Linked DNA regions of Homo sapiens: regions 1, 2 and 4 are each linked to region 3. Evidence: promoter capture Hi-C in human tissues and cell types (Jung and others, 2019). All regions are on one chromosome and are shown on one strand. Each heading gives the region's core, a stretch centred on a gene start or on the middle of the fragment in contact. The rest is flanking DNA. Distances are from core to core; before and after follow the strand shown. Region 1 overlaps EDNRB-AS1 (EDNRB antisense RNA 1). Region 2 overlaps LINC01069 (long intergenic non-protein coding RNA 1069). Region 3 holds the start of EDNRB (endothelin receptor type B). Region 4 has its middle 33 kb from the start of LINC01069.

Evidence for each region. Contacts are between HindIII fragments. The study calls those that stand out against the background at their distance.
Region 1: a contact is called between a fragment that was not itself captured here and the fragment with the promoter of EDNRB in region 3, in 3 of the 25 tissues and cell types used here (H1 embryonic stem cells, bladder and neural progenitor cells).
Region 2: a contact is called between a fragment that was not itself captured here and the fragment with the promoter of EDNRB in region 3, in 1 of the 25 tissues and cell types used here (adrenal gland).
Region 4: a contact is called between a fragment that was not itself captured here and the fragment with the promoter of EDNRB in region 3, in 7 of the 25 tissues and cell types used here (H1 embryonic stem cells, adrenal gland, hippocampus and 4 more).

Annotation. Positions count from the first base shown.
Region 1 is chr13:77,858,921-77,861,892 of GRCh38, forward strand. All of the region lies in intron 6 of EDNRB-AS1 (EDNRB antisense RNA 1), which reads left to right. Among named protein-coding and RNA genes, the nearest start is that of EDNRB-AS1, 41 kb to the left of the region's middle. The HindIII fragment of the contact is 3,072 bases long and covers 114-2,972 here.
Region 2 is chr13:77,977,416-77,980,140 of GRCh38, forward strand. It overlaps LINC01069 (long intergenic non-protein coding RNA 1069), which reads right to left. Exons shown (of 3, transcript NR_108076.1): 3 at 2,351-2,725. Among named protein-coding and RNA genes, the nearest start is that of LINC01069, 16 kb to the right of the region's middle. The HindIII fragment of the contact is 5,052 bases long and covers 1-2,725 here.
Region 3 is chr13:77,917,551-77,920,305 of GRCh38, forward strand. It overlaps EDNRB (endothelin receptor type B), which reads right to left and starts at 1,281. Exons shown (of 7, transcript NM_001122659.3): 1 at 541-1,281. The coding sequence starts at 1,023. RefSeq lists promoters at 1,210-2,282, 1,272-1,386 and a cis regulatory region at 1,638-1,647. The HindIII fragment of the contact is 11,006 bases long and covers 1-2,755 here.
Region 4 is chr13:77,960,353-77,963,178 of GRCh38, forward strand. It overlaps a transcript of EDNRB not described here. Among named protein-coding and RNA genes, the nearest start is that of LINC01069, 33 kb to the right of the region's middle. The HindIII fragment of the contact is 6,838 bases long and covers 1-2,826 here.

The sequences.
Region 1 (2,972 bases), core at 400-2,899, 58 kb before region 3:
TGATTTTCTATACACAATGTTCTGAATTAGTCATATATAAATCAATTTCAAGATGGAGTTTTAAATGTCGAAGTGCATCTTTTATTCAGGTCACTATTCAGAAATTATTCTGAAAAAAATCATTTACTGATCTGTTTCCTTAAAAACATCAGCCTCTACTTATCCTTCAGTCATCCTCATCAACTCCCTCCCCTTCTCACCGCCCCAAAGCAAATGAAAGTCTCAAAAAGCATGCTTGAATTCATTGAATGTGTACAAAGAATGTGTTCAAAGCATTCACATTGCTTTTGCTCAGATTTTTCCTCTCCTTCTTTGCATGTTCCTCACTCTCATGTCTTTGCTAGTTTTGCCTTCTTCCATTTCTCCAGTCTCCCCATGGGTGTAGCATCCCTGGATCCCCTTTAGTTAAGGGGTAAGCATTAAATCAAATTAGGTCAGTGCTACTCTCTATCTTTAGTATTTATGTTAAAGTGAACTAAATATGGCCTGAAAAAGCCTCTGTACTTCCATATTTGAGTCCTTTTGGACGAACCGTAACCTAAGTTAATAGGTAGACAAGACTGAAAACCTAACTTAGGCGTATGCTTCTGTAACAATAGCTGAGTCTCAGCCAATCCCAGCAGCCATACTTCAACCACGTGTACACTGCTGACTGTTCAAACTGTGTTCAAAGAAGGCAAATGCCAACCTGTAACCAATCCAGCTGTTTCTGTACCTCACTTCCGTTTTTCTGCACGTCACTTATTTTGTTTGTCTACAAATTTGCTCTGACCGTGAGGCATCCCTGGAGTCTTGCTCAATCTGCTGTGATTCTGGAGGCTGCCCGATTTGTGAATCATTTTTTTCCTTGCTCAATTAAACTCTGTTAAATTTAATTTGTCTAAAATTCTCTTTTAACGTTTGTATCCAGACACAGTGATGGATAAATAGAAAATCACTGGAACTGATTTATCCCACCTGGAAGAAGGCATCTGTTAGTTTTTGCCCTCATTCCTGTTTTTTTTCAAACCTTGGATTCTAAGCTTTACTCGCTAATCTGTGAGTAATTCTCAAAAAGTGCTAGGCTTTTTGATACACACAAGGTCTTTGAGCAGTAAAAGTTTGGTTTTGTGTGTCAAGATTCTAAGCTTTCCTCACTAATCTACGAACTACCTATATGCTTCCAATAAGTTGCCTTTTTGCCTAAGCTAGTTGGAGTCAGTTACTATTTCTTCCAGTCAATGACCCCAACTGGTCAACTTCTCATCTCCTTCCTTCCTGTTTTACTTCTCTTCCTTTTTCCTTCTCTATCAGCCTTTCCTCCCCCTTTCTTACTATTCTCATGTTTTTCTTCCTCTTTTTTGGAGGCTTTTAATAATGAAAGAAAAATTAAAAAGTTAAAAAAATGGAAAAATGAAAATATTTTAAGCGTATTTAATCACAACTACTTCTCTTTTCAAATTAAAATGGAGGGTTTCTTGACTATATATTGTGTACAGTTCCAAGTCTTATCTGAGTACAAATAAATACTATTATTAATAGCAAAAATAATAAGCAAAGCAACTTAATCCCCCCAAGAAATTATGCAGTGCCTCCAACAATTTTACAGTTTTGGCCCATTAAAACATATTTATGGCTTGTCTAAACTAATTAGATGATTTGATCCATGTGGTATTCATTTTCAAAGGATTCGCTGCCAGATTTATGTCTTACTACAGCAATTAACAAAGTTATTTTTGGAAGTAAGCATTTAATATCTTCTTGTAGCAGGCTGAAAGAATTTAAGTTTTGATGTCCAGACTTAGCCTATAATTAAAGGTAAACTTAAATATTTAACATAGTAGAAGAGGAGTAACAACTACAAAGTTTACTTGAAAATGAAGTGAGTCATTTCACTGAGTCATTTATCTTTTATGCTTGCATGCATAATCAACAGAAGTTTGTGTTTTGTACTCAATTCCTTTCTCAAGACAGCCAACAGCTGTTGCTTCCCTCAAGCTGTAAACTTCATCTTCCTGTTTTACCTCAGCTGTTTTGCCCAAACTGCCTTAGACATAATGGCAGTTGAAAATCAGAAGTTTTTGTAAGTCATAGCAGTTATTGTCAGTAATAACTGCTAGATGATATTAGGAATCAAAGCTGGGTCTGCTAACATCAGTGCAGTTAGTTCAGGTGGTGTTTCCAAACATGAAACATTTAGAAAAAGGAAAATGAGCCTAGCCTGGAAATCATGATTTTCAGGGAGAAATCCAAGGATTTTCTGTTCTGCGGGCAATGCAGCAGATTAAGATAGCTGGCATGGATCTGAATCGATAAAATTTCCCTTTTATGTTAGCAGACCTAATTTGTGTCATCTTAAGAGTTAACAATTGCATAGACTTTATTTCAGTTTTTAAAAATTGTTAGCGTAGTATTTATTCTCCTTGTAGTCGTTTCAATGTTTTATATACTTATTGGTCTGGTCGTGTGCTAAATATTTTTGGCTTAGAGTTAAAAAGTCGTAAAATGTAATTTTTTGAAAATTTAGAAGTGTGATATATAATTTAAATCGAATCTTGCACTTAGGACAGGTCTTATACCTCCTTGTAAATAAACCTCTTCCTTTTCTGACAGAAGTATTCATTGCTTTGGGGGTATTACAAATATTGTAGCAGAGATGACAAGAAGAAGTGATAGGCTCATAACTTCAGTTTTAAAACAGTGATTTGAACTGAAAACAAAGAAAACAATCTTGAATCCCAAGACACTTGATTTGTAAGAAGTAGGCTTTTTGATAGACATGAGGTCTCTCAGCAGTAAAAGTTTGTTTTCCAGTGTCAAGAGAAAATCCCTGGAGGAATCAGGAAATAAAATCAATAGGTTCAGGAATATTTTTGGAAGAGAGAAGATGAGGAGCCAGATAATTCTTCCTAGGATTGCTTATAGGAAGATAAGAACTCGGAAGGAATCCCACATTCAGCCCTTGCCCTTTTCCTTTCCCCTTGGCCAGATGA
Region 2 (2,725 bases), core at 152-2,651, 60 kb after region 3:
CACCCAGGCTGGAGTGCAATGGCATGATCTCAGCTCACTGCAACCTCCGGCTCCCAGGTTCAAGTGATTCTCCTGCCTCAGCCTCCCAAATAGCTGGGATTACAGGCACCCACCATCACGCCTGGCTAATTTTTGTATTTTTAGTGGAGATGGAGTTTCACCATGTTGGTCAGGCTGGTCTCGAACTCCTGACCTTAGGTCATCTGCCCGCCTCAGACTCCCAAAGGGATCTCCTTCTTTTTAAGGGCTAAATGATATTCTATTATATATATATATATATATATATATATACACGTGTATATATATATATATATATACACGTGTATATATATATATACACGTGTATATATATATATATACATAAAATACACACATATATATATACATATATATATATATATATATATATATATATATATATATATATATGTGCCATCTTTTCTTTACCCATTCATCTGTGATGGACATTTGGGTTGTTTCCATATCTTGGTTATTGTGAATAATGCTGCAGTGAATATGACAGTGCAGATATGTCTTCAAGATCCTGATTTCAGTTGATACACACACACACACACACACACACACACACACATATCTCTATCTATCTATCTATCTATCTATCTATCTATCTATCTATCTATCTTTATCTCCAGAAGTTGGACTGCTGTATCATATGGTAATTCTATTTTTAGTTTTTTGAGAAACTGCCATACTGTTTTCCATAGCAGCAGTACAATTTTACATCCTATTAACAGTATATGAGGATTCTAATTTCTCCACAACCTCACCAACACTTGTTATCTTTTGTTTTCTGGACAATAGCCATTCTAACCAATGTGAGTTGATACCTGTTTGTGGTTTCAATTTGCATTTCCCTGGTGATTAATGATATTGAGCATGTTTTTATATTATCTGTTGGCATTTGTATGTCCTTTTGGGGGACATGTCTACTTGATTCCTTTTCCAATGTTCTAACCAAATTACTTATTTTTTGCTCTCGAGTTGCAGAAATCCTTTATATAGTTTGGATATTAACCCTTTATCAGATATATGGTTTGCAAATATCTTTTCCCATTCCATAGTTTGCCTTTTCACTCTGTTGATTATTTTCTTTGCTGTGCAGAAGTTTTAAAAAATTTGTTATAGTCTCACTACTATTTTTGCTATTGTTGCCTGTTCTTTTGGTGTCCTATCAAAGAAACAATTTTTGTCAAAACCCATGTTGAGACATTTTTTCCTTACATTTTCTTCTAGGTGTTGTATGGTGCCAAATTTTACATCAAATCTTTAATCAATTTTGGTTAATTTTTGTGTTTGGTAAAAGATAAGCATCCCATTTCATTCTTCTGCAGATGGATATCCAGTTTTGCCAACCCTATTTATTGAAAGACTACCCCTTCCCCCTTGTATTCTTGGCACTCTGTAGAAAATCAGTTGACCATACATATGTGGGCTTATTTCTGGGGTCTCTATTTTGTTTCACTGTTCTATGCTTTTATGCCCGTGCCATACTGTTTTGGTTACAGTAGCTTTGTAATACATATTGAAGTCAGGAAGTGCAATGCCTCCAGCTTTGTTCTTTTTGCTCAAGATTTCTTTGGATGTTTGGGGTCTTTCGGAGTTCCATATGAATTTTAGAGCTTTTTTTTTCTACTTCTGTAATAAACATCTTTGAGATTTTGACAGGGGTTTCATTGAATCTATAGATTATTTTGAGTCATATGGATGTTTTAACAATATTGATTCATCCAATCTATGAACACAGGATGTCTTTCTATTTATTTGTGCCTACTTTAACTTCTTTAATCAATGTTTTATAGTTTTCAGTGTACAAATCTTTCACCTCCATGGTTAGATGTATTCCAAAGTATTTTACTATGTTTGATGATATTGCAAATGGGATTGTCTTAATTTCCTTTTCATATAGGTCATTGTTGATAGTTACATTACTTTTTGGTATTGTGTTGTGTATTTATTAGTGCAACTTCTTATTAGTTGTCTTGTTAATATCTGTAGCCCAGCACCTAAAACAATGCCTGGTACATGATAGGCTCTTGATAAATAGTTGATGATTCATTAAGAAAATTAATACCTGCTGATTTATAAGGGGAAGAAATATGGTAATTTAATCCATGACCTTTATAGCAAAGAAAGTCATGAAAAATGAGATAGGTAATGAGGTTTAAGTACAGGAAAAGTGGTTCAAGAGGCTGAATTTTGGAACTGTGAGTTGAAATGTATTTTAGAATGAGTTAGAAGTAAAAGACCTGTAGATTAGAGTCCTTGATTGTCAAGAGTAAAGGGATCACATTCAAGGCTTGATAAGGATTGGTCCAGCTACATTTTTTTTCTTGAAACATTGAAATTTATTTTTTTCCATATGAAAATCCATTATTTTCTGTGCATCCTGAGGCACAAATAAAAAGGTGTATCTTTTATAATTTTGTTGAAATTTGAAAATACTATCTTTGGGGTTTTCTAATTTCTTGCGCAATTGTTTTTCCAAAAGTTAAGTGGGAAAAAGGGATTTAAGGAGGGAGGGAGAGAGAAAAGGAGGGAGGGAGAGAAGGAGAGATGGATTTTGCTTTTCTTCTTTGATCAGCAGAAAAAAATGTGACTGCTAGCAACAGCTTTTGGAGAGGGGAACAGGAATCTAGATGTGCAGAAGCCAGGAGGGCATATGTGGAAATAAATATCTTTCCTGCGAGTGTGGCAGAGAGGTGGG
Region 3 (2,755 bases), core at 31-2,530:
GAGGTAGCCTTGCATTCCTAACAAACTCTCAGGTAATATTGATGCTGACTGTCCATGGACCACACACTTTTGACTAGAGGATGTACCCCATTAGGTGCACTTAGGGACTAGATCCTTCAGGACTAGTGGTTCTCAAACTTTACAGTTCATCATAATCACATAAAGGGCTTGTTAAAATACAAATTACTGTGCTCCACTCCAGAGTTTCTGATTCAGTAGGTCTGGGGTGAGGCCAGAAAAATCTTCATGTGCACCAAGTTCCCAAAGTGATACTAACATTGCTAGACTGGGGACTACGCTTGTCCTAAGCTTAGCAGAGGTCTACTGAAGACCTGAATGGAATTTTATTCCAATGGTTACTGACTTTTATGAGTGGACAGAACCAAATGGAATTTGGTTCCAAAGATTACTGACTTTTAGGAGGGGCAGAACCTTAAGAGGGAGCTAAAGGGAAGCTCCCTCTACAAGCTTTCTCATCTCCCCGTCTCCAACCAGGCCCCCTTCCTCAAGCCCACCATGATTTCAGCAGGCGCCCTTTACCTTGTAGACATTGATAGGGATGTCAATGACGATGTGCAGCAGGTCTCCCAGAGCCAAGCTGGCGATCAAGATATTGGGACCGTTTCGCATGCACTTGTTCTTGTAGATAATTCTCAGAAGTGTGGAGTTCCCGATGATCCCCAGCACGAACACAAGGCAGGACACAACCGTGTTGATGTATTTGAAAGTCTCCTTGATCTCGATGGGTCCTTGGCACGGGGGAGGGGAGATGGTGCGTGGCGGAGATCCTGCCGTCCTGTCTCCTTTAGGCACCTCCGCAGGTGCCAACGACCGCGCCAGACTGGCGTTGGAACCCTTGGGCCATAAGGTCTTAGTGGGTGGCGTCATTATCTCTGCGGTTTGCAAAAGCGGAGTGGCCCTGTCAGGCGGGAAGCCTCTCTCCTCTCCCCAGATCCGCGACAGGCCGCAGGCAAGAACCAGCGCAACCAGGGCGCGTCCGCACAGACTTGGAGGCGGCTGCATGCTGCTACCTGCTCCAGAAGGCGTCCGGTGGCCGCTCCGCAGTTTCAGAGCCTAGAGACAAGCAGAGGAAGGAAGACAGGACACTTGGGTCAGCTGCCCGAGCCAAGTCGCTGCAAACGCTAATACCGCCCGCAGCCTCTTCGCCAGTATCCACGCTCAAAAGTAACTCAAGTTTGCGCGCCAGTGGGAAACTTGGCGCTCATGACTCGCCAGCGCGGGTCGAAACTCCTTCCTGATGCCCTCTCAGCTGTTTTTCTTCCCCCGCGTGGCCAGGAGGGGTAAATAATATGCAGTGGGGCGGGGCGTTCTGGAAGGGGTGTGCCAGGGAGGGAATGATGGGGGTCCCAGGCAAAGCTCCGAACTCTTTCACGTAACGGGAGGAATACAGACACGTCTTAGTTAAGCGTGCGTGGGAACCGCGGAATTAAGGCACCTAGAGGCCAAGGGCTTGTGTCAAGCTCTGCATTTTGCCCCGCAGGGGAACCTCTATACCCCGCGATTGAACTCGAAAGACTCCTCCCGGCGGATGAAAGCCGCTACTCCCTGGCTGGCTGAGCTACAGCTCCCGCAGCGCGCCCAGGAGTGCGCCGGAGATTCGGAAACCCGCAGAGACTTCTCAAGTCAGCAGGAACTTGGAAACCGCTGTTCCCTCCAAACGGCTTCAAACACTCGCGCTCCTTCCTTTACCCAACCTAATTTTAATTTGCCCTCTCTATAGGCTTAATTTTTATTTTTTTAAAATCCCAAACTAGTAAGCCAAACCGAAGCCCCAGAATAAGGTTCAATCAATGATTTTAATTCAACACCAAGCCCGAATGTTTACCTCTCGGATCTGACAAACCAGATGCAGAGCGACGAATGGAGACCACCTTCCCGGGAGGCGGAACCCAGCTGGGTTCCAGCCTGCTCTGGGAGAGGAGCACGCCTCCCTTGAGCTGCAGGCGGGTCCGGCTCTGACGAAACGCTGCGAGAATGCCAGACAGTGTAGCCTCCACCGTTTGCTCGGGGTCTCTGCTGCCATCAGACAAGTACTTTTATTCATTCATCCCTTCCCATCAATCACCGCCAGACTCCTCCCGCGCCTTCCGACCCCGCTGCAACCTTTCCCCTTGGGCGATGCCTGGACAGCATCAGTAGTAGTTGCCCGAGGGAGGGGGGCAGTCCTCGTCCGGGGACAGGTCCCAAAAGGCTGTTTATTTGTTAGAGTTCTACGCTCTTCAAATGAACCCAAATCAAGGGCAAGTTATCACGCACCATGTGACACCCGGCAGCTCCAGACTAGAACAAGGCTCTGCACTGAACGTGATAATTGAACTTTTAATGCCAAGTGTCACTTTTCTTTCAGGTAAATGTTCCGCCGCTGTGATATTTAAGGTTGGTTTGTGGGCGCTGCTCTTTGCTCTGCTTCATTTTGCCCTGAAGTTTCATTTCAAGCCAACATTAACCCCAACACGGAACAGCTCGATCTTTTCTTCCCAGGCCCTCTCACTGCCCCGAGAGAGGATTACAAGTACTCCTCATTTTCCCCAGTACAGCTCTTCTCCTCTCTTCCTGCCACAGTATCGGTGTTAGGCAATCTCAGGCATTTTTATACTGTACCTATGACAGACTTGATGCTTATCGGAGACATGAAAATAATCAGAAAGCTGCCATGCAAATTCAACATGATATTTATTTACCAGGTAGAGCAATACAATAAGGTCTTTCTATCCATTCTTGAGCTCCATGTTTA
Region 4 (2,826 bases), core at 250-2,749, 43 kb after region 3:
ATAAGCCAGAAGAGAGTGGGGGCCAATATTCAACATTATTAAAGAAAAGAATTTTCAACCCCAGAATTTCATATCCAGCCAAACTAAGCTTCATAAGTGAAGGAGAAATAAAATCCTTTACAGACAAGCAAATTCGGAGAGATTTTGTCACACCAGGCCTGCCCTACAAGAGTTCCTGAAGGAAGCACTGAACATGGAAAGGAACAGCCAGCACCAGCCACTGCAAAAACATGCCAAATTGTAAAGACCATCGATGCTAGGAAGAAACTGCATCAACTAATGAGCAAAATAACCAGTTATCATCATAATTGGCAGGATCAAATTCGCACATAACAATATTAACCTTAAATGTAAATGGGCTAAATTCTCCAGTTAAAAGACACAGACTGGCAAATTCAATAAAGAGTCAAGAACCATCAGTGTGCTGTATTCAGGAGACCCATCTCACGTGCAGAGACACACATAGGCTCAAAATAAAGGGATGGAGGAAAATCTACCAAGCAAATGGAAAAAAAAAAAAAAAAAAGCAGGAGTTGCAATCCTAGTCTCTGATAAAACAGACTTTAAACCAACAAAGATCAAAAGAGACAAAGAAGGCCATTACATAATGGTAAAGGGATCAATTCAACAAGAAGAGTTAACTGTCCTAAATATATATGCACCCAGTACAGGAGCACCCAGATACATAAAGCAAGTCCTTAGAGACTAGAAAGAGACTTAGACTCCCACACAATAATAATGGGAGACTTTAACACCCCACTGTCAACATTAGACAGATCAACAAGACAGAAAGTTAACAAGGATACCCAGGAATTGAACTCAGCTCTGCACCAAGCAGACCTAATAGACATCTACAGAACTCTCCACCCCAAATCAAGAGAATATACTCTCTTCTCAGCACCACGTCGCACTTATTCCAAACTTATTAGGTCTGCACCAAGCAGACCTAATAGACATCTACAGAACTCTCCACCCCAAATCAACAGAATATACTTTCTTCTCAGCACCACGTCGCACATAGTTGGAAGTAAAGCACTCCTCGGCAAATGTAAAAGAACAGAAATAAGAACCAACAGTCTCTCAGACTACAGTGCAATCAAACTAGAACTCAGGATTAAGAAACTCACTCAAAACCACTCAACTACATGGAAACTGAACAACCCACTCCTGAATGACTACTGGGTACATAACGAAATGAAGGCAGAAATAAAGATGCTCTTTGAAACCAATGAGAACAAAGACACAACATACCAGAATCTCTGGGACATATTTAAAGCAGTGTGTAGAGGGAAATTTATAGCACTAAATGCCCACAGGAGAAAGCAGGAAAGATCTAAAATTGACACCCTAACATCACAATTAAAAGAACTAGAGAAACAAGAGCAAACACATTCAAAAGCTAGCAGAAGGCAAGAAATAACAAGATCAGTGCAGAACTGAAGGAGATAGAGACATGAAAAACCCTTCAAAAAATCAATGAATCCAGGAGCTGGTTTTTTGAAAAGGTCAACAAAATTGAAAGACTGCTATCAAGACTAATAAAGAAGACAAGAGAGAAGAATCAAATAGATGCAATAAAAAATGATAAAGGGGATATCACCACCAATCCCACAGAAATACAAACTACCATCAGAGAATACTATAAACACCTCTACGCAAATAAACTAGAAAATCTAGAAGAAATGGATAAATTCCTGGACACGTACACCCTCCTAAGACTAAACCAGGAAGAAGTTAAATCCCTGAATAGACCAATAACAGGCTCTGAAATTGAGGCAATAATTAATAGCCTACCAACCAAAAAACGTCCAGGACCAAATGGATTCACAGCCGAATTCTACCAGAGGTACAAGGAGGAGCTGGTACCATTCCTTCTGAAAATATTCCAATCAATAGAAAAAGACGGAATCCCCCCTAACTCATTTTATAAGGCCAGCATCATCCTGATACCAAAGCCTGGCAGAGACACAACAAAAAAAAGAGTATTGTAGACCAATATCCCTGATGAACTTTGATGCAAAAATCCTCAATAAAATACTGGCAAAGCGAATCCAGCAGCACATGAAAAACCTTATTGACCATGATCAAGTGGGCTTCATCCTGCTGGTTCAACACACACAAATCAATAAATGTAATCCAGCATATAAACAGAACCAAAGACAAAAACCACATGATTATCACAATAGATGCAGAAAAGGCCTTTGACAAAATTCAACAGCCCTTCATGCTAAAAACTCTCAACAAATTAGGTATTGATGGGACATATCTCAAAATCATAAGAGCTATTTATGACAAACTCACAGCCAGTATCATACTGAATGGGCAAAAAACTGGAAGCATTCCGTTTGAAAACTGGCACAAGAAAGGGATGCCCTCTCTCACCACTCCTATTCAACATAGTGTTGGAAGTTCTGGCCAGGGCAATCAGGCAGGAGAAAGAAATAAAGGGTATTCAATTAAGAAAAGAGGAAGTCAAATTGTCCCTGTTTGCAGATGACATGATTGTATATTTAGAAAACCCCATTGTCTCAACCCAAAATCTCCTTAAGCTGATAAACAACTTCAGCAAAGTCTCAGGATACAAAATCAATGTGCAAAAATCACAAGCATTCTTATACACCAATAACAGACAAACAGAGCCAAATCATGAGTGAACTCCCATTCACAATTGCTTCAAGGAGAATAAAATACCTAGGAATCCAACTTACAAGGGATGTGAAGGACCTCTTCAAGGAGAACTACAAACCACTGCTCAACGAAATAAAAGAGGACACAAACAAATGGAAGAACATTCCATGCTCATGGATAAGAATAATCAATATCGTG